Linked DNA regions of Homo sapiens: region 2 is linked to region 1. Evidence: promoter capture Hi-C in 16 types of primary human blood cells and fetal thymus (Javierre and others, 2016). All regions are on one chromosome and are shown on one strand. The core of a region is centred on a gene start or on the middle of the fragment in contact, and the rest is flanking DNA. Distances in the headings are between cores, read along the strand shown. Region 1 holds the start of C2CD2 (C2 calcium dependent domain containing 2). Region 2 overlaps UMODL1 (uromodulin like 1).

Region 1 (3,567 bases), core at 315-2,814:
CAAATGCTCAGTCTATCTAATTCCTTTCAAGGTCAAGTCCCCTTAATACAGCTGCAGAAAATAACAGGGGAATCACTTTTTTATGGTTTAGGCCTGTTTTAGGCCCCGGAGAATCTCAGGCTAGTATGTTTCTATGGCACTCCCTAAGGACCGCGTCCACTCTGCAAGAGGAGGGCACAGGGGCATGTCCCACACACCACACCACACACACACACACCATACCACATGCACCACACTGACACACCACCCACACACCACGCCACATGCACCGCACTCACACATTACACATACACACACTCCACATCCATGTACCACACATACACACACCACCGTGTTCACCACACACACAAACCACACCACATGCAACGCACTTACACAATACATATACACACAGCACCACACCACACCCATGTGCCACACACACACGCTCACATCACCCTGTGCACCACACACACACGCACCACACTGACACACCACATACATACACCACACCACATCACACATACACACCACACACACCACATGCACCACACACACACACCACATGCTGTGCACTTACACATCACACGTACACACACCCATGCACCACACCGACACCACACACGCACCACACCACATGCACCACGCTTACACATCACACACACACACCACACACACACACCACACACACTGCACTTATACATCACACATACACACCCATGCACCACCATACACACTCGCACCATCCTGTGCACCACACACCACACACATACACCACATGCTGTGCACTTACACATCACACGTACACACACCCATGCACCACACCGACACACCACACACGCACCACACCACATGCACCACGCTTACACATCACACACACCACATGCACCACACTGGCACGCAACACACATACCACACCACATGCACCACGCTTACACACACACCACACCCATGCACCACACATACACACTCACACCATCCTGTGCACCACACACCACACCCACAACACATCACACCACATGCGCCACACACATCACACCACATGCACCCCCGCCCCACCCGCACACTGAATGAATGACACAGCCACACAGAAGGCAGGGCCTGGGCCTGGTGCTGAGCCCCTCCTTGCCTCTGAGAAGCACGCCCCCTAAGGCAGGCCCAGCCCCTGGCTCCAGGGGCAGCCACGGATTTCCAGGGACTTTCCGAGGACTGAGCCTGGATCCTGTCTCGCTGGCGAGCAAATGGCAGTCCTCGAAATCACCCTGACTGCGCGCTGTGCACACGCACACTCACACATGTGCACACACACGCACTTGTGCAAGCGCGCACACGAGCCAAGCCAAGCAGCCGCACAGCAGCCGCCGGGGTTGGGCTGATGAATCCGGAGGCCCGGGTCACCTCGCGGCCCGCGGGCAGGCGCCGGAGGGGCGGGCGACGCGCGCACGTGGCGGGGCCGGGAAGGCCGGGCCTTTAGGGGGGCGGGGGCACGCCGCGTTGGGAGCAGGGGGGAGGACTGCGGCCCCCGCAGGCCCGGCCGCGCCCCCTCCCTCGGGCACCGCCCCCGCCCCGCCCCGCCCCGCGGCCAGAGCCTCCTCCGGCCACCGCTGGGCCGCGGGCGGGACGCCCGGGGCGGCGCGCGCAGGAGGAAGCGCGGCCCGCAGCGGCCCAGGAACTTCCCAGACGCCGAGTCGGGAGCGCGGGCCGCGGGGTCCGCTCGCGCCCCTGTTCCGCAGGTGTGCGGGGCTTGCGCCCAGCCCGGGCCGCGGCCGCCGCGCGTTTCCTCCCCGCTTGCCCGCCCAGAGGCCCCCGGCCACGCTCCTCGCCGGGCTCCGACCCCGCCGCGCCCCCTCCACGCCCCCAGCGCGCTGTGGCCGCAGCCAGCGCGTGTCCTGAGTCCGCCGTTCCGGCCCGGGGCTGCCGGGGAAGTTGGGGCGAGGCGGGCCGGGGATGCGCCATGGCCATGGCCCGGCTGGGCTCGTGGCTCGGGGAGGCGCAGTGGCTCGCGCTGGTGTCGCTCTTCGTCGCGGCCCTGGCCACGGTAGGCCTGTACCTGGCGCAGTGGGCGCTGGCCAGGGCGCGACCCCAGCCCCAGCGGCGGGCGGTGGAGCCTGGAGAGGGGCCGCGCCCGGGGTCCGACGCGCTGCTCTCCTGGATCCTGACGCTGGGCAGCTGGAGGAGCCAGTGGCAGGCGGCCTGGGTGACCGCCCTGAACGAGGAGGCCGAGAGGAAAGGGGTGAGTTTCCGGGACTGCGGGCCGGGGGGCGGCAGATGCCGGGGCGGGCGGTCCGGGCCGAGGTCTTTCCTGGAGGCGTCGCTGCAGCCCCTGACCCAGGCTAAGGGAGTCCTCCCCCCAGCGCAGACCATCCTCGAGAGTTAGGAGAGAGACGGGGGAGCGAGGCCCCTTGACGGAGAGACAAGACAAAGTGATTGATTTTATTCTCCAAACGGCAGGTGCTCCAGGCCCTGGGCTCCGCGAGGGACAGGCTGGCAGTTGGAGGGACCGTCAGAAGTGCTCATCCGCGCCAGCCAGTACCTGCCTTGCCTGGAGTCCCGGGGCGAATTCCCGTGCCCGATCGGACACTTACTGAGCTTGCACATGATACATGAATAGCTGTGACCCCAATGTGCTTCCGCCTCTCATAGAGCTGAATTTCACCAAGAATTTATCTCCAAAGACTTGCATTTCTTGGCATATAAAAATAGTGACCGTTTGCTGAGGGCCAGCCGCTGGGCAGACATCCTACCGAGGCTTTCGGTGCGTCTGCCATCTCTGAATCCTCACAACTCCCGGGACAGGGGTGTTATCACTGTTTTACAGATGAGGAAACCAAGGCCCGGAGAGGGCAAGCAGCCTGCCCAGTGCCACACAGCTCGTGGGCGGCAGAGCTGGCATGTGAATCCAGCTGCCCTGGCCTGCAAGCTAAGGGCCTCGTGTCTTACCTCTGCTGCCTCACAGTCCTGTGGGTGTTTCTGTAGTCGCTGATTACTCGTTGACTTATTTTTGCTTTTAAGACATCTTAGTATAACGACAAGCTCCTGGCATGTACTATTCTTAGGCATTTCACAGGAGAAGTTGGAGCCTGGGTGGGTTTGGGGAGGCACCCCTAGTCTTGGCCGCTGCTCCGCCCTTCCAGGCCACAGTTTCCTGCACATGCCTGTGCAGCTCAGTGGTCATTCGCTGTGGAAATAGCAGAATTGCTCATTTTCAATGTCCGGCCCCATCAACCTTCAAAATATTCCATGGCGGGCCCTGTGCCTGGTCCTTGTGCATGGCCTTGGAAGACATGGCCATGGAATTAAAAAACAAAAAAGCTTTGACTATCAGTTAGCAGCCATCCAACAAATCAAGAGACCTTGTTTTGAACTCTTGAAAAAGAACATAAATGACTGTACTTTTTGGAGGAAAAAGGCTTCAGGGTCAGTTGACTGACTTTTGTCCTGGTGCCCAGAATCTGTGCCTCAGCTGTCCAGAGCTGGAGAGTGTCTCAGGGAAACCAGCTGTCTCTTGTGGGAGCCCTCCACCCCTGTTGGCCTCACATCCAGGAGCAAATGCAGGTATTTCCCCAGGAAGCTGCCATCACTGACCCC
Region 2 (3,694 bases), core at 52-2,551, 170 kb before region 1:
CTCAGTGGAAGGTGGGGGGTCCATTATAGAAAAAGTGGTGCCTGATGGAGGCTTGGGTGGCGGCCTGCCAGTGGCTCACTGGAAGTGGGGCCATCCCATGGGATTGGCCACGGGACATATTTGGCCTTCTCTGGCTAGCCCTGAGTGGGAAGAGGGAACAAAATTTGGGGAGCAGCCAGGCCACACCCATTTGTATATTCCATCTCAAGGAAGGGTCCTTAAGTGGTTGACACCCTAAAGAACTCTCAAAGCGCAGGTGGTCTGGAGGCACGTGGCTGTGGGGCAGCCGGGGCATTTCTCCCTTACCCCCACTCCAGGGTGAAGCCGGAGGATGTCAGCAGGTCATTCTGGAAGGCGCAGTAGATGGGGCTCAGGATCTTCAGGTGGTGGATGATGCCCTCCTGGGACAGGTCGTTCCTCAGCGTGGTCCTCACCACGGTGTTCGTCATGTTCTGAGCACAAAGCGGAGCATGAGGAGCTCCCAGGCCCCAGCCGGCCCCCCACGCCCTGCTGTGGGCCACGGCTCTAGGTGCTGGGGGGATGGGGGTTCTTCTCTAAAGCCTCTCCCCAGCAGCATCGAGATCCTGGCGATTCTCCCAACCATAAACTGCCTAAGAGCCTAAGGGCTCGGCCTCTGCTCATTCCCTATTGACCAGAGGAGGCAGCACCTGAACCTGTGGGGATTCCGTGGCAGCTGCACAAATAAGTCTTTCTGGGAAACTTAGTTTTTGACAAGTGTCAAAAACCGTCAAGAGCTCTTGTGGATTTCAGGGACTGGGTGAGTCATCAGAGACAAATTCCCTTTTCTTTCAACATGCCCCAAACCCTGCTGCATTTAATAATCAAGCCAAGCATTGGTCTGGTTCAGAAAAACACAGAGGGAGCTGCCGGCTGCAGGCTCTGCCCAGGGCCCCAGTCCTGGGAGGCGCTGTCTCTCCACTGGAGCTGCCGCTGTGTGGGTGGCGATCTGAGCACCAGGCAGGCTGTCCTGCACCCTCAGCCCCTCCACTTGGCCCCGCAGCCCTGCAAGAGCCCTGCATAGGCTTGAGGATGCCGCTGTGGCCCGGCCCACATGCACCTCTCACCCCAGACCTCCCTCACCAGGGAAACTGCCGAGAAGCCACAGGAGCCACTGATCACCGCCCATCCCCCTTGCAGACACCCCCCTGCTGCCAACGCTCGGCCTCCAGGTGGCCGTCTAAGAAGCTTTGAGGGAGAAAACTAATTCTGGGCAGTTCTGCTTAAGTTGTGCCATTTGAGGGGCTGAAGGGTGAGGAAGGTTTTGTAGCTGTTGAAACAGTGCAGGTTACTCCTTCAGCCCAGGGAGGATCTGAAGAGCCCCCGAGGGGGCGGAATGAGCTCGGCAGAGTGAGCTGTGCCTCCCAGGCAAGCTTGTGCTCTGCAATGGCCTCCGACGCGTCCACGTGAATCCCTCAGCTTCCTGGCCACCCTCAGTCCCAGCTCCAGGCTCCAAGCAGGCTCCACACCATGGAATCACCTTATGCCCCACCTCCCCACCTCATCCCTCAGCCCCTGGGGCTTTCTGGCCTCTGCTCCCCAGGGCTAGCTCCTTACTCAGCCCCAAGGTCCATGTCCCAGCCTCCTGCTCAGGACGTCCACCCGGTTCCCACTTTGTCGGCTCCCAGACATTGACACCCCATGCCAGGACTCTGGGTTTCATCTGACAGCTTTGACCCATCCAGTGCCAGAGGCCGCCCTGTCCCCACTAAGGAGTGTGTCCAGACCCCCAACCAGAAGCAGCACCCCCTCAAGGCTCCTCAAGAGGCAGAGCCACAGGGACGGGGCTGCTTCTCGGTGTCAGGTTGACTTTGACCCTGAACTCCCATGGACCCTGCCGAGCACCCAGGGCTCAGCCGCAGAGCGTGGATGATGATGCCTGACCCATGCGGTCGCTAAGGGACTAAACATCATCATGCATGTAGAACTCTCAGCCAAGCAGGTCCACGGTGGTTTCAGGGCACCACCCCAACCAATCCCTTTTTTTAGAATGCAATGCCTTGGACTGCTCAAAGGTCCTGAGGGACAGAAGCCCAGGGCCCAGAGTTCCCGCCAACGACCAGGAACCACCATTCCTGCCTAGCTCCCGATGAGGACAATGTCCCCATTAGGAGAGCCTTCTGGCCCTGGCTCCTAGGCCAGGCACTGCTCCCTGCTCAGCCCCATCCACAGCCCCACTTTCCCACCAGGCCTCATACCCCACCCTGCCCATGAGTGTCCACCCTTCCATCCCTGCCCACCTGACCAGAACCACTCGGACAGACTCTTAACTCCGCCATGGTTTCCAGCCTCCCTCATCTAGCCACCCCCGGCATGGCCCTTGGATACATTCACAGCTCTCTCACTCACCCTTGGAACGACGCTGGCCTCCTTTCTAGGTCGAGCCCCTTCCCAGAAGGCCACTTCCCCAACCCAGAGCCGGCACGGGCTCCCTCTGAAGCCGCCGGCCCCTCCAGGCAGCTTCCCTGATCCACCCTGCACTCCCAGGCCCATGCGGCCCAGGCCCCTGTGTCCAGTACCAGGCTGAGCTGGTGGAAGGTGCTGGCTCTCCCCTCCTCTTGTCCCCCAAGCAGGGCCCTGAACACGAAGCCTTTGTGCTCCATGTGGCCAAGTGGGGTTGGAGACGAACAAGGGCCTGCATGGGAGCGTTCGCTGTGACACAGAGGCACCCTGGGAAGAAGCAGGACCTGGAGCCAGGTCAGCTACCTCATGGGTGCCACACACTAGAGGCTCAGAGTAGACCCAGGACGCACTGGCCCAGAGTCACCTGCAAGGGGAGGTGCCAGAGCCCATCTGTGCACACAGAGGTGCGAAGGCCTCAGGCCAGGAAAACCCACTTTCCCCACCTGGGCTCCCTCTGTCCCGGGAGCCCCACAGCCCATCCAGGACCCTGAAATAGAGAATGTTCGCTAGGAACACAGTCCCTCCGACAGAGCAGTTCTGACTAATGCCATCCAATGCCCCCCAAACACACACCCATACATACACACTCACACATGGACAAACGCATCCACACATGCTCAACTCACGCACACATGCACACATGCACATAGACACATTCTCACATTCACACACTCACACATTCATACATGCATGCACACCCACACGCACACAAGCACGCGATACACATGCACACACACACGCACGTACATATAAGCACAGCCATGCATATACACATACACATTCGCACACACAGATTCACACATTTACACACATTCACACACATGCACACCCCCACATACACAGACATATTCAGACACATGCACACATGCACACACGTACACTCACACACACACACTCTCATATCACACAGGACTCCTTGGCTTTCCTGCCTCTTCCTGTCCCACTGCCTCTCATCCTGTCTGTGCAGGGAGGAGTTTTAAGCCGTGACTCTGAAGCCTGCCCCAGCACTCTGCACCAGAGTCCCTCCTGGGTGGACTCACAGCTCCCTTCCGATTCTGGGGTGCAGGCTGGTCCCTGGTTGAGAACTCAACCCTGTCCTGAACCCCCCTTGCTGGGTTCCCCTCGGGGTGCAGAGTCTTGCCTGGCCCTCCCACATCGAGGCCCATGTAACCTAGAGCCCCTTGCGCCCTAGTGTACATCCTGAGCCTGGCTCTCCTGGTCTTACGCTCTGCATGAGGGTCCCACACTCGCTCCAGCCGGCCTCCAGGAGCAC

Evidence for each region. The method cuts DNA at HindIII sites, captures the fragments that hold promoters and counts their contacts. A CHiCAGO score of 5 or more calls a contact.
Region 2: a fragment that was not itself captured here is called in contact with the fragment with the promoter of C2CD2 in region 1 in 10 of 17 cell types (M1 macrophages, M0 macrophages, M2 macrophages and 7 more); the score reaches 9.4 in M1 macrophages.

The regions. Positions count from the first base shown.
Region 1 is chr21:41,952,015-41,955,581 of GRCh38, reverse strand. It overlaps C2CD2 (C2 calcium dependent domain containing 2), which reads left to right and starts at 1,564. Exons shown (of 14, transcript NM_015500.2): 1 at 1,564-2,212. The coding sequence starts at 1,934. RefSeq lists a silencer at 1,272-1,941 and an enhancer at 1,818-2,592. The HindIII fragment of the contact is 8,952 bases long and covers 1-3,293 here.
Region 2 is chr21:42,123,103-42,126,796 of GRCh38, reverse strand. UMODL1 (uromodulin like 1) reads right to left here. Exons shown (of 23, transcript NM_001004416.3): 17 at 3,647-3,694; 18 at 307-452. Among named protein-coding and RNA genes, the nearest start is that of UMODL1-AS1, 16 kb to the right of the region's middle. RefSeq lists enhancers at 499-1,270, 1,271-2,044, 3,372-3,694. The HindIII fragment of the contact is 185 bases long and covers 1,209-1,393 here.